Regions from separate parts of the Homo sapiens genome. Here region 2 is linked to region 1. The links are contacts of gene promoters, found by promoter capture Hi-C in blood cells and fetal thymus (Javierre and others, 2016). All regions are on one chromosome and are shown on one strand. Each heading gives the region's core, a stretch centred on a gene start or on the middle of the fragment in contact. The rest is flanking DNA. Distances are from core to core; before and after follow the strand shown. Region 1 holds the start of LINC00921 (long intergenic non-protein coding RNA 921). Region 2 holds the start of C16orf90 (chromosome 16 open reading frame 90).

Region 1 (7,401 bases), core at 3,398-5,897:
CTGTGTTAAATTGAATATATCAACACCCACCTTGGACAGGCACAGTGGCTCCTGCCTATAATCCCAACACTTTGGGAGGCCAATGAGGGAGGATGGCTTGAACCCAAGTTTGAGATCAGCCTGGGAAACATAGTGAGACCCCGTCTCTACCAAAAATAACTTTTTTTGAATTAGGCGTTTTGTTTCAAAAATTTCAGAGAAAGGGACCTGTATCTAGAGTCTTATTTCAGGGGCAATCTTCCCACCTCAGCTTCCCAAGTAGCTAGGACCACAGGTATACATGATGGTGCATTCCTGTAGTGTCAGCTACTCGGGAGGCTGAAGTGGGACATTACTTGAGCTGGGGAGGTCAAAGCTGTAGGGAGCTGAGGCCAGGCACGGTGGCTCACGCCTGTAATCCCAGCACTTTGGGAGGCCGAGGTGGGCAGATCACAAGGTCAGGAGATCGAGACCATCCTGACTAACACGGTGAAACCCCGCCTCTACTAAAAATACAAAAATATGCTGGGCGTGGTGGCAGGCGCCTGTAGTCCCAGCTACTCAGGAGGCTGAGGCAGGAGAATGGTGTGAATCCGGGAGGCCCAGCTTGCAGTAAGCAGAGATCGTGCCACTGCACTCCAGCCTGGGTGACAGAGTGAGACTCCATCTCAAAAAAATAATAATAATAAATAATTAAATTTAAAAAGCTGTAGGGAGCTAAGCCATGATTGCAACACTGCACTCCAGTCTGGGTGATAGAGCGAGACCCTGTCCCCAAATAAATAAATAAACATACCCACCTCACATGAGGATAGTGAAGTCTAGGAAGAAACACCTATTACCTTGTATCCAGCATTGTTCTTGGTGCTTTGTGTGTATTAGCTCATTTAATCTTCACAACAACTCTAGAACCCCCATTTTACAGTTGATAGAAACAGGGACAAAGAGGGTAGGTATATCACTTGGCCAGCGTCACACCCTGCTATGAAGCACTCACATGAGGCAACGTAAAGCACACACAATACTTAGCACCTATAAACTGCATCAATTAAAGGTCATCCACTGCAGTTCCAAAGCTGTAATTTTTGGTATTTTGACATCCCCACTTCACAGACAGCCTTGGAAATATTTTCTGTGGTTTTTGAACTCCAGTTTTAGCTCTGACTTACACAGTCGTTTTCTCCTAACTACTTCCTGCAGCATTAAGAATTGTTTCCAGCTGCTGGTTTCTGCAGAGGATTGTCCTTGGAGCGTGGGGTGTCCACTGTGGTTCCAGCCGCAGCCCTGGTGCCCACACATGAAGATGCCCTCTACAGGACAGAAAGAGAAATACCACCTGATGTTGGCTGGGATATGGGCACTGTCTTTGTTCCAAAGAACCAAAGCTTTTCTTGGCAAATGGCCTGTCAGTCATTTCAGTTTATCTCAACTGCATTTTTAAAATTTCAGTTTCTGCTCTGGAGCTTCAGAGGAATTGAGACATGAGACAATTATGCCCTAAAGAACAGTCTGTCTGCATAAATGTTATGCCTGCAGTGTGTGTGTGTGTGTGTGTGTGTGTGTGTGTTTGGAGATAGGTCTGGGACGTGTTTCCTTCGGTACTGGCTCAAGGTTCCTTATTTGACTTGCTAATTTAAACTTATTCTACTTTGGAAACCTCGAATATTTTTTCTCTATGGGCAGAGTCTGCTTTTAAAAATCATTTGTTTAATCTTCTGCACCCCAGTGAAACAAAGTCTCAGCTAATAAATTTTTTAATTTTTCTGCTGTAAAAGTAATGGAGCAAAATAAGAAATTTCTCCTCTAACATTTAGCTTGCCATATTTTATTTTCCGTTACTATTTCACAATGAGCATATATTTGTGGACTATGTTTCATGAGTCATAAAACTTTAAAAATGCTCATTGAACGCCGGGCATACTGGTTCACGCCTGTAATCTGAGCACTTTGGGAGGCTGAGGCGGGCAGAACACAAGGTCAGAAGTTCGAGACCAGCCTGACCAACATGGTGAAACCCCATCTCTAACTAAAAATACAAAAATTAGCCGGGCGTGGTGGCGTGCGCTTGTAATCCCAGCTACTCAGGAGGCTGAGACAGAAAATTGCTTGAACCCGGGAGGCGGAGGTCGCAGTAAGCCCAGATCATGCCACTGCACTCCAGCCTGGGCAGCAGCGTGAGACTCCGTCTCAAAAAAATAATAATAAAATAAAAAAATAAAACGTATAGATGACATAGAGGGAAAAGGCCAACTTCTACCCCCAATTCTACTCTTGAAAGGTAGTCATATTTATTTCTTGCATTTCCCTCCAGATACTTAAATTTTAACATTTTTTTCTCTTATTTACAAACATGGGATCATGCTATCTGCACTGTAGTGCAAATGTGCTTTTTCCACTGAATAATACATAAACCATCTTTGCACATTAGCACACAGAAATTCACCGCACTGTTTTCAGTGGATGCAGTGTAGTCCAAGGAATGGATTCACCAAAACTTACTCAGCTATTCAGCCAGTGCCCTGGTGACAGACATTTAAGGGGTTTACAGTTTCTAACTAACTGGCAAGTGTGGCAGGCAGGGAAATGATCTAGGATGATTACCATCATTTGTGTAAGAAAGTGCCCCTGAGAACACCATGAAGGTGAATACAGCCTCGATATGCTTACCTGAAGACAGTAGTCTCGATGGGTAGGACTTAAATCCAATGTAGGAACTAGAAAAACAGACCATCTAGCTGGGTTTCCAAGCTTTTTTGTGGGCTGCAATACACTTGGATCAAAGGAAATCTTTCTTGAAGGTTAAATATGTAAAACAGTTAAAAAGTAGTGGCCGGTCTGGCATTAGTTGGGAGAGGGGGGAGGGGGTAGGAGGGAAGGAGGGAGGTCTATGCCTATGAAGCTCCTGAAATAAGAAACCTGGGCCGGGCGCGGTGGCTCACGCCTGTAATCCCAGCACTTTGGGAGGCCGAAGCGGGCGGATCACGAGGTCAGGAGAGCGAGACCATCCTGGCTAACATGGTGAAACCCCGTCTCTACTAAAAATACAAAAAATTAGCCGGGCGTGAAAATTAGCCGGGCGTGGTGGCGGGCGCCTGTAATCCCAGCTACTCGGAAGGCTGAGGCAGGAGACTGGCGTGAACTCGCGAGGCGGAGCTTGCAGTGAGCGGAGATGGCGCCACTGCACTCCAGCCTGGACGACAGAGCGAGACTCCGTCTCAAAAAAGAAGAAAGAAACCAGATGCATGTGCCTTCTTTGAGCCAAACCATTACCTCTCTGGCTCACAGCATGTTACTAGATTTGTTCAAAAGGAAAAAACAGAAGTTTCAGCAACCGTACTCTAGGGTTCTGAGGGGGCAGAGTTTGAGAATCCTTGCTCTAGCCCGCCTCTGCTGATTATAAGGGAGAAAACGGCAGTGCTGCTGTTAGGCTGATGTATCTGTTCCTTTCACAGCTTTGGTCATAACTGGTAATTACCATTTACTTGTTCTCAGCCTCCTTGGAACAGCGATCTTGCCTGACACGTGCACCCTCGCACGTGGCACAGTAAGTGGGACACATTAGGCACTCGGAAAATATTTGCTGTAAACATGAAAGAAGGGCGACAGGCTAATAAAGTGTGGAAGGGTTTTGGGGTCAGCACAGCCCCGGGACGTCCCATCCCCGTGGGCCGCGGGCCGCCCGGAATACGACGACTCCACTTGCCGGCGCTGCTCCCGGGATACCAGCGACAACAGCGGCTCAGTCCCGGCAAACGGCGCGTGGCCCCTCCGGCGAAAAGCAGCTATAGGCTGTTGCGGCTGCCAATCAGACCAACAGAGCCGCGACTCGGAGACCTCTGGGAGACGTGGGCCCCCGCTAATCCGCCCTCCAATTGGCTCGCGTGCTCCCGGGGCGCTCTGGGAGATGTGTTTCTGGGAGTGTTCCGCGCATGTGCATGCGTGAGGGCGGGGCGTCGGGGTCGGGCTGGAGTGTCTGTCGCGCCTTATGTGGGCCCCTCGGCAGAAGACGCACTTTCGGCAGAAGCCGCACTTTTGGCAGAAGCCGCCCTGGGTCCTTTCCCTCCCGCAGGCAGGCCGGGACCCCGGCGGGAATTGCGTGCAGGTCGGGTCTCGCTTGACCCCAGCGCCTCCCCGCGTCCGGGCACACTGCGGACAGTTCCTTTTTATTCTCTACCGCTACTTCCTCTTTATCTTCTGCCGCTCTTTCCACACGTCTCCTCCCCCAGGCCGCTTCCCTTTGGGGCGCCGGGCCAGGGAGGGGCTGCCGGACCGGAGACCCCGGACTCGCGCCGGTCTCCGCTCGGGCGTGGGGTCCGTGGGGCGTCGGCGGGAGGGGTCCTGGAGGAGACGGCTGTGCCGGGGCGGGACCCCCTGTCCTCTTAACAGACGCGCCCCTGACAGTCGTGCCAGTCGCCGCCCTGGGCTTTGGGGACGTCCGAGGACGCAGCTGGCGGTTCCTCCCGCGGTTCCCGGCACTGTTACTTCCCCGAATTCCCAGAACAACCCATTTGATAGGAAATGGAAACTGAGAAAAATCGAGTAATTTACTCACGTCACACGGCCACCAGATATTTGAATCTCGTATTTCCCACCACTTCGTGGCTTCCAGGCTCATAAACAAGAAGTTGCAAAACAGGGTGAGGCGTGGGAATGACAGCAGCACGGGGCGGGGAGTGGAAGGGCGGAGCACCTTAGAGGGCAGGATTCAGCAAACGGAACCTCAAAGGAAACAGTGTCAGTGCTGCTGCTTAGTTGGTAAGAAAACAAAGGGCCGGGCGCGGTGGCTCACGCCTGTAATCCCACCACTTTGGGAGGCCGAGGCGGTCGGATCGCGAGGTCAGGAGTTCGAGACCAGCCTGACCAATATGGTGAAACCCTGTCTCTACTAAAAAATACAAAAATTAGCCGGGCGTGGTGGCGCGCGCCTGTAGTCCCAGCTACTCAGGAGGCTGAGGCAGGAGAATCGCTTGAACCCCGGAGGCACATGTAGTGAGCTAAGATCGCGCCACTGCACTCCAGCATGGGCGACAGAGTGAGACTGCGTCTCAAAAAACAAACAAACAAAAAAAGGGAGTAGCTGCCTTCCAGACACAGTTTTGTTATTTTTCTGCCCCTTTCACTAGCCTGTCAGCCCTTTGGTGGCCGGGGATTGCGTGTCCAAAGCCTGGCTGCTAGTCAGGTTCCTATAAATATTGGTAGGACAGAGCGTATTAAAGTTTTTATTTTAAGATTTTTAAGCACAAGAAAGTTGAGAGAGTAACATGAATACTCACGTACTCTCCACCTAGATTTAATAATCAGAAAAAATTATGTGTGTAGGCCTTTATTTTTTACAAACCCTCTTGTTTAACGTTACCGCCTTCCAAATGAAGCTCATTGGTGAGTGGTGTGGGGATCTATTCAGAGCCCCATGACTGCAGCCCTTCAGCAGGGTTAAGGCCACCTGCCACACCCCACTTTGGGAAGCTGGCTTCCTCTCCTCTCCCTCCGTTTCCAAGCTGCTCAGGAGGTGCCCTCAGAAAGATCAGTTACAATTAGTGTTATCTGCGTAGGGGACTGGGCAGCAGATCTCATTGATCTGGGCTGGGATCGGCAGGTGGGTTGGTCCAAGTTGAGAGGGAGATCCTGCAGAAGCTCTTAGCTGCTGCAGGATTCAACACTAACTCCTTAAGGTAGCAACAAGGGCCCTTTGTAAAATCTGGCCAGAAACAGGTATCTTAGATGCATCTTCACACCCGCCAGTATCCAGTCTACCCTTATCATGTCAGCCCTGCTTTCAGAATCACCCAGAATCTGACCCTTCTGCCTCCACAGTGGTTCAGGGCCCTGCAGTCGCTTTCCTGCATTGTGACAATAGATTGCTTTCTCCTCTCTGTTTCCACCTTTCTCATCTCTTGTCTCTTATGGAAGCCAGAGTGTTCTCTTTTCTTTTCTTTCTTTTTTTGAAACAGTCTCACTCTTTCACCCAGGCCAGAGTACAGTGGTGCGATCACAGGTCACTGCAACCTCCGCCTCCCAGGTTCAGGTGATTCACCTCAGCCTCCAGAGTAGCTGGGACTACGCGCACATCACCACCACACTCAGCAAATTTTTGTATTTTCAGTAGAGACGGGCTTTCACCATGTTGGCCAGGCTTATCTCGAACTTCTGACCTCAGGTGATCCACCTTCCTTGGCTTCCCAAAGTGCTGGATTATATGTGTGAGCCACCGCGCCCGGCCCAGAATGTTTCTTTTAAAGCGTAACTCCAATTATGTCACTGCTCTGCTCAAACTTTCCAGTGTCCCCTCATCTCAGAGTAAGAGCCAAGTCCTTGCTGTGTCCTGGGAGCCCTGCTACTTGATAGGGGACTCCAGCTCCCTCTCTAACCCCTCCATCCACTCCTCCTCCGTGCCTCTGCTCCAGCCACCACTCTTCCTCAAACACTAAGCACAAAGTTACCCCTTTTGCACTCTGTAAATAGGCAAAGACTGCTCATCCTCAAAATGAATACCTGGCTTACTCCTCTTCCTTTGGGTCTCTGTTCAAGCACAAAAGCCTTCTTCAAGTGCCCTATTAAAATATGAAACCAGGGGGCACGGTGGCTCATGCCTGTAATCACAGCACTTTGGGAGGCCAAGGCGGTTGGATCACTTGAGGTCAGTTGTTTGAGACTGGCCTGGCCAACATGGTGAAACCCCGTCTTTACTAAAAATACAAAAATTAGCCTGGCATGGTGGTGTGAGCCTGTAATCCCAACTACTTGGGAGGCTGAGGCAGGAGAATTGCTTGAACCCGGGAGGCAGAAGTTGCAGTGAGCCAAGATAGCACCACTGCACTCCAGCCTGGGTGACAGAGTGAGACTCTGTCTCTAAATAAATAAATAAAAATAAAAAAATATGAAACCAATCCCCTGCACTCACTAACCCTATTATTCTGCTGTTTTTTCCCCCAACTTATCACTCCCTGATACATTGTGTATTTGTTTGTTTATATCAATTCACACTTTCCTATAAGAATGTGGGCTCTTGGCTGGGCGCAGTGGCTCATGCCTGTAATCCCAGCACTTTGGGAGGCCGAGGTGGGCAGATCACAAGGTCAGGAGATCGAGACCATCCTGGCTAACACGGTGAAACCCCGTCTCTACTAAAAATACAAAAATTAGCCGGGCGTGGTGGCAGGCGCCTGTAGTTCCAGCTACTCGGGAGGCTGAGGCAGGAGGATGGCGTGAACCCGGGAGGTGGAGCTTGCAGTGAGCTGAGATAGCACCACTGCACTCCAGCCTGGGCAATATAGCTAGACTCCGTCAAAAAAAAAAAAATGCGGGATCTTCTGAGCCAGGCGCAGCAGCTCACGCCTGTAATCCCAGCACTTTGGGAGGCCGAGGTGGGTAAATCACTTGAGGCCGGGAGTTTAAGACCAGCCTGGCCAACATGGTGAAACC
Region 2 (7,401 bases), core at 616-3,115, 230 kb before region 1:
CAGAAGAATTACTTGAACCCGGCAGGCAGAGGTTGCAGTGAGCCGAGATCGCGCCACTGCCCTTCGGCCTGGCGACAGAGCGAGACTCTGTCTCAAAAAAAAAAAAAAAAAAAAAATGCACTATACTCAGGAAGCCCGCCTTCCCCCGTCCGAGGCACAGCGCGCTCCTCGTCGGAATCTGGTTGCCGAGCGGAGGACGGGATCACTGTGGGCGCCCAGAGGCAGGCCAGGCCTCGGTCTCGCGCACGCGCAGACGGCTCGGGCTGCACAACAGGCCGGAAAGGGGCCCTGAGCCGCTCGCGCCGCGCGGGTCCCGGCAGCCCTAGCCTCTGCATGGGGGCGCGAGGAGACGGCAGGAAGGGGCGGCCTCCACGTGTGAAATGGGGAGATGCCCCGCCAGGCGTGGCACAGCAGCCGGGTTTTGTAAGGTAGCTTGAGCAGGAACAAGGAAACAGCGTAGTGCACAAAGCGATTGGTTGGCATCAGGTTATTTCAGATGCATTTCTTTGGGTTAAAGCAGAGGGGGCTTCCTTATGCCAGCCTAGGTGGACAGGGCCCCTTTTGTTGGTTGCAGTGAATCTTCTGTGTTTTGGCAGACTGGCCTGTCTCTAAGTTCGCATTGATTACGTGGCACCTTGCACTAGCGATTCCATTCTGGTTTGGTCTGGTCCGTTGGTACCTTGTGCAGGAGCTCGCTCCAAAACAATGGCCTCCCATAAATGTTGCTTCACGTGTTATTAAGAAAAACAAAAGATAAGCCACAGTCTAGAAGAAAATATGCACAAAACACATATCTGATAAAGAGACGTGTATCCAGAATGTATCAAGAACTCTCAACACTCAATAATGAGAAACAGTCTAATTAGAGAATGGAGAAAACATTTTAAAAGCTACTTCACAAAAGAAGATATATGGATGGCTAATATGCAAATGAAGAGATGATCAAGGCTATTATTAGAGAAGTGCATATTAAAACCACAATGAGATATCACTATGAAGTTATTAAACTGGCTAAAATATCAGGTAACACGTTAAAAACCTAAAAATTAAATCTAGATAAAATGGCTAAAACAACAAAAAACTCTTGACAATGCCAAGGGCTTGAAAGGATGTTGATCAACTTGAACTTTTTTTTTTGAGATGGACTCTTGCTCTTGTTGCCCAGGCTGGAGTGCAGTGGCACAATCTCGGCTCACTGAAACCTCCGCCTCCAGGGTTCAAGCGATTTTCCTGCCTCAGCCTCCGGAGGAGCTGGGATTACAGACGCGCGCCACCGCGCCCAGCTAATTTTTGTATTTTGGGTAGAGACGGAGTTTCGCCATGTTGGCGTGAGTCACCGCACGCGGCCTGCATTTCCCTGATGATTAAAGATGTTGAACATCTTTTTACGTGTTTGATGACCATTTGTATATTTCCATTGGAAAAATGTCTATTCATTTTCTTTGCCCATTTCAAAATTGGGTTGAACATCCTTTTGTTTTTGAATTGTAAGTGTTCTTTATATATTCTGCCTATGAGACCCTTATCAGATATATGATTTGCCAATATTTTCTTCCATTTCATAGGTTGTCTTTTCACTTTTTTTTGTTGTTGTTGTTTGTTTGTTTGTTTGTTTGTTTTTTGAGATGGAGTCTCGCTCTGTTACCCAGTCTGGAGTGCCAGTGGTGCGATCTCGGCTCACTGCAAGCTCTGCCTCCTGGGTTTACGCCATTCTCCTGCCTCGGCCTCCCAAGTAGCTGGGACTACAGGCGCCCACCACCACACCCGGCTAATTTTTTTGTATTTTTAGTAGAGACGGGCTTTCACCGTGTTTGCCAGGATGGTCTGGATCTCCCGACCTCATGATCCGCCCGCCTATGTTGGCCAGGCTGGTCACAAACTCTTGACCTCAGGTGATCTGACCACCTGAGTGTCCCAAAGTGCTGGGATTACAGGTGTGAGCCACCATGCCCAGCCGTGTTTCTGATTTCTGAAGATTTGCTTTTCCAAGATTGTTGTGGTTATTTGGGCTCCCTTGTAATTTCACATGAATTTTAGGATTAGCTTTTCCATTTCTGCTTGTGATGCTTAATTTTGTGTGTCAACTTGACTGGGATGCCTGATAGCTGGTAAAACATTATTTTTCAGTGTGCTTGTGTAAGCGTTTCCAGAAGAGATTAGCATTTGAATTGCTAGACTGAGTAAAAAAAAAGAAGATTGCCCTCACCAGTGTGGTGGGCATCATCCAATCTGCTGGGTGCCCAATTATGACAAAAATGCAGAGGAGGGGTGAATTCACACTCTCTTCATGGGCTGGGACATCCTTCTTCCCGTGCCCTTGGACATTGGAGCTCCTGGTTCTTGGACTTCTGGACACCAGGACTTACACCAGCCCTCACCCCCACCCCTACCCAGATTCTCATGCTTTTGAACCCAGACTTAATTACAGCACCAGTTTTCCTGGTTCTCCAGCTTGCAGGCAGCATATTGTGCGACTTCTCAGCCCGGATAATCACATAAGCCAATATCCCTAATAAATCTTCTCTTGGCTGGGCACGGCGGCTCACACCTATCACCCCAGCACTTTGGGAGGTGGAGGCAGGAGGATCACTTGAGCCCAGGAGTTCAAGACTAGCTCTGGGCAACATGGTGAGATCTCCATCAGCAAAAATTTAAAAAATTAAAAATTAAAAAATGAAAATAAATTAAAAAATTAGCCAGGCCTGGTGGTGCACACCTGTAGTCCCAGCTACTTGGGAGGCTAAGGTGGGAGGATTGCCTGAGCCTGGTAAGTTGAGGTTGCAGTGAGCCGTGATCATGTCACTGTACTTCAGCCTGGGCAATGGAGCAAGGCCCTATCTCAGAAAAAATTATATAAGGAGATTTATTTATCCTCTAATAAATATTTTCTCTGTAAATATCTATATACATTCTGCTGACTATATTTCTCTGGAGAAGCCTAATACACTACATGAAGGCCATTTTGATTTTGATAAGAATTGTACTGAGCACTTTGGGGAGTGTTGCTATCTTAACAATATTAAGTCTTCAGTCCATGAACATGTGATGCTTTCCAATTTATTTAAGTCTTTAGATTCTCTCAGCAATGTTTTATAGTATTCAGAGTTGTCTTATACCTCCTTGGTTAAATGTATTCCTATTTTATTCTTTTTATTCTTTGCTAGTATCTAGAAATACAATTAATTTTTGTGTGGTGATTTTATGACTTGAGATTTTTCTGAACTTCATTAGCTCTGAAAAAGCTCTACTAGGTTCAGGATTTTTTTTTTTCAAGTATGAATTATTTAATATTTCCTACATACAAGATCAGGTTGCTGGGCGCGGTGGGTCATGCCTGTAATCCCAGCACTTTGGGAGGCCGAGGTGGGCGGATCACCTGACGTCAGGAGTTTGAGACCAGCCTGGCCAACATGGCGAAAGCCTGTCTCTACTAAAAATACAAAGATCCGTTGGGCGTGGTGGTGGGTGCCTGTAATCCCACCTGCTGGGGAGGCCGAGGCAGGAGAAGCTCTTGAACTCGGGAGGCGGAGGTTGCAGTGAACCGAGATCGCGCCACTGCACTCCAGCCTGGGCGCCAAAGTGAGACTCCATCTTAAAAAAAAAAAAAAAGAAAAGAAAAAAAGAAAAATCAGGTCGTCTGTGACAAGAGAAAATTGAATGTTTTAACTTTTTGTTTTTTTGTCAGCATCCAAAATCTTTTTAATAAGAGGGTTCGTTTTTGTAGCCTCGGCTGGCCCGTAGGCCTCTGGCGCGCTCGAACTTCTGGTCCCTGGAGCGGAAATAGCGTTTGGTGTGGCTGTGTGGGGTTCCCAGGGCCTTGCCGAAATGCCGGTACACCTGTCGGCCCTTGCGAAGACCGGAGAGTAGGACGGGGCCGCCGTCCTTGAGGGAGTCCAGGGCCAGCTGATCGAAAGTCAGGATCTTGGCCCCCACCCTGAGGATGCCGCTGTGGGCCGGCTGGTCACGGGCAGCGCACACACCTTAAGTTTGGGCACCTCCTGAACCCTCGCGTCATCCGTTAAGCGTCCCCACAACCACGGCCGTTTTGTTTTCCCAGCCAGGAAGCTTCATCTTCCGGATCATCCGGGAAACGGACAGAGGTGGCCGGTTGGTGCGACTCATAAACAACCTCTTCAGCACAACCTGGTTGAATGTGGAGTTAGTTCGTCTGGACGGTAACCTGTACAGCTTGACCAACAAACAGCCTCAGTTAGATATCCTGGCTCTTGGGCTCTTTGCGCCGAACCTTTAGGTCCTTCTTGTGGCGGACGTCAGCTCCCATGATGGCGCTTCCTGCTTGGCCAGGTCCGGAAAGATGAATGTTTAACTTTTTTTTTTTTTTGAGACGGAGTCTCGCTCTGCAGCCCAGGCTGGAGTGCAGTGGCGCGATCTGGGCTCACTGCAAGCTTCGCCTCCCGGGTTCACGCCATTCTCCTGCCTCAGCCTCCTGAGTAACTGGGACTACAGGCTCCCGCCACGACGCCCGGCTAATTTTTTTGTATTTTTAGTAGAGACGGGGTTTCACCGTGTTAGCCAGGATGGTCTCGATCTCCTGACCTCATGATCCGCCCACCCCGGCCTCCCACAGACCTCAACTGATCAGCCTGCCTCGGCCTCCCACAGTGCTGGGATTACAGGCATGAGCCACCGCCCCCAGCCCCTTTTCAGCATTTTCAAAGTACCGACCTAGGTCTTCCTAGGTCTGTACTCCTGAACCCTCATTTCCCACCCCAGATGAGGAAGCTGGCCCCAAGAGATCACCTGAGAGAAGGACTCTCCAGTTTGCCAGAGCTGTCTGTTTTATGTGGCCTGACCCCAGCCAGAGGGACCAGGGACTTCCCCCAGGGTTCTGGCCCCTTCCCATGCCTTTCTTTCACCCTGCCCTTGCCTTGGGCACTGTCCTCTCCCAAACTAGGGGTCCAGGAAGGCTGGGAGTCTTCCCCGTGATGTCATAAGAACCAGTTGCCAGGGGAGACCTGCCAATGTACCCCCTAGGCAGGGGAGAGCAGGGCCCTGCTGCACCCAAGTCCTGGTTGCTCCTCCCCACCACACTGGCCCTCCATGGAAGCCTTGGTCTGTGCATTTTCTGAGCTGCACATAAGAGAAGGTGCCGGGCTGTGGGGAGGAGTGGCAGGAAGAGAGATAGGCTTCTGTCCCCACCTGGGCCCAAAGCCGAGGGGTGGCCTCAGGGACATGTATGCTTGGGAGAGGGGAATGGCCACTGGGCCAGGCCATGAGCCCCTGGGCTGGCCACTTTCTCTCAAACCCACTGTGCAATTTCTCTGTGGGGACCAGAATACTCTTCCTAGGGTAGCGGGCAGAACAGGGTAGTAGAAAGGACTTGAGGTCCTGAAAGCACTCTTAGTACCAAGGCCCGAGGCTTCCCAGGCCTCCCTGTTGGTTGGGAGTGGGAAGAGGAGTCGTGTCTTGGGCATGGGCAGGGGAGGCAGTGGACTGAGACTATTTGACACACAGGTAAACTGAGGCCAGGTTGGCTGGGGGTGTAGCCCATCATGTGAGCTGGTCTCAGAGGTATGTGACTGCACCCTCCCCTCATGGCTGCTGTGGGGGGCTGGCCACCACCCTCCCGCTGTCTCCTCTGCAGATGCAGTGAGCCAGGCCCAAGGACGCCCCGGCCACCCTGACGCACCCCCCAACATCTACGAGGGGGGCCTGGGGTCCCCGCAGCCGCAGTGCCCCAGTGCCCAGGGAAGCAAGCCCAAGAACTTCCGGCTGCGCCACCTCCGGGGCCTGGGCCTCTACCTGGAGAGCCACCCGCCACCCACTGGCCAGTGTGAGAGCCACTGGCTGGGCCGGCTTATGGCTGGGGGCTGCCTGCCACAGCCTGAGGGCACAGCCTGGGCCCTGGACCTGCCACAGGGGACTCTGGGCCCACGTAACAGCCTCTGTTCAGCCCTTCTGGAAGCCCGATTGCCCAGGGACAGCCTGGGAAGCAGTGGTGAGCTCTGTCAAGGCAGGACTGGGCACGGGGGAAGACCCTAGGGGATGGTTGGGCTGGGGCCTCAGGCGGGCCCTTCTCCACTCCCAAGCCTCCACAGTGGCACCATGCCCCAGAAGGCCAAGATCTTGATGAATCTGTCCCCATCTCTGCATCACGCACAGCTAAGCGGGGTCTGGAGAATCCACCAGGGACAAAGCGGTGCGAGAAAAAGGGAGGATCTGGGAGGGAGGGCTGGGTGACTGCCCCAGCTCCACACTCGGTGAGGGGCCTTGGAATCTGTCTCCCTTGCTGGGCCTCAGTTTTCTCACTTGTAAAATGAGGGTTCAGGTTAGATGAGGGTCCTTCCAGCTTGAACCATTCTGTTCCCTCAACCTCCTCCCTCCCCTGGGGATTCTGTTAAGGAGGAAGCATTGCCCTCCTCCCTTCTGTTTTCAAGAATATCGGATTCTGGAAACCCCAGGGTGGGCTGCCAGCCTCCCCCCCAGCCTCCCCTTGGGTCCCTCAAGTGACTCCTTTCTCTCCTCTTTCCTCAGCTTCCAGTTCCAGCATGGACCCAGACAAGGGTGCCCTCCCCCAGCCTAGTCCTTCTAGGCTCAGGCCCAAGAGGTCCTGGGGGACCTGGGAAGAGGCCATGTGTCCCTTGTGCAAGAGAACCCGCTCTGGGGCCCTGGAGAGGCCATAGGGATCCCGAGTGCCAGGACTGGGTACAGGAGGGGCAGGATGGCCGAGGAGGCAGCCTGAGCAGGAGGGGCTCGGCCCCCGGCAGTGGCCCTGCCACATGGGGTGGCCCAGGCAGCGGCCCAGCGCCCAGGCCTGGGCCTCGGGAGAATGTGATGGGGAGAGGGAGGAGGAGGAGGTTCCGAGGGAGGGGCAGAAGCAATAGAAGCATGGCCGTGCCCTTGCAGCCTGCTTAGACTCCAGTCAGCCACTTGTACCTGGGAGGCCGGGCTGAGTGCAGAATCAGGCCCCCCCGCCACCGCCTCCCTGAGAGGCCGGGGAGCCCACAGCTCTGATCTCAATAAAAGCCAAGGCCTGCACGTTCTTGTCCATCTGCCTGTCTGTCATCAGGCCAGTTTGGTGAGAAAAACAGTCCTGTGTCTCTCCAGGGATGGGTCTGCCGCGCCCCCACTCTTAGTTGCCAGGGCATGAGAGGCGTGAGCTAGGGCAAGGGCCTGTGGGAACACCATACTTGTCTGTGAGAGCTTCCTGGATGAGACACTGCTGAGCTTGGCTCCATAGGGTGGGTAGGGGCTCAACAGCCCACCTTTTCAGCCACCATGCCTGGCTAATTTTCTTTTCTTTTTTTTTTTGAGATGCAGTCTAGAACTGTCTAGAGGCCAATTTAGAGCCAGTTTTCTTTGGGGCCAGCATGTGGCTGCAGCAGATGTCCTTCTCAGGGGTGAGATCCTGGCTACGGCTGTCTGTGGCTGAGTTACAGA

Evidence for each region. The method cuts DNA at HindIII sites, captures the fragments that hold promoters and counts their contacts. A CHiCAGO score of 5 or more calls a contact.
Region 2: a fragment that was not itself captured here is called in contact with the fragment with the promoter of LINC00921 in region 1 in 15 of 17 cell types (megakaryocytes, erythroblasts, naive CD4 T cells and 12 more); the score reaches 8.1 in megakaryocytes.

Annotation. Positions count from the first base shown.
Region 1 is chr16:3,261,014-3,268,414 of GRCh38, reverse strand. It overlaps LINC00921 (long intergenic non-protein coding RNA 921), which reads right to left and starts at 4,647. Exons shown (of 2, transcript NR_033904.1): 1 at 2,647-4,647; 2 at 848-1,289. RefSeq lists enhancers at 3,667-3,736, 3,887-3,986, 4,427-4,586 and a silencer at 4,227-4,406. The HindIII fragment of the contact is 6,272 bases long and covers 2,730-7,401 here.
Region 2 is chr16:3,493,082-3,500,482 of GRCh38, reverse strand. C16orf90 (chromosome 16 open reading frame 90) reads left to right here and starts at 4,994. Exons shown (of 3, transcript NM_001080524.2): 1 at 4,994-5,107; 2 at 5,606-5,959; 3 at 6,496-6,999. The coding sequence starts at 5,062. The coding sequence ends at 6,644. It also overlaps a transcript of CLUAP1 not described here and the pseudogene RPL18P12. RefSeq lists a silencer at 7,226-7,401. The HindIII fragment of the contact is 4,404 bases long and covers 1-4,067 here.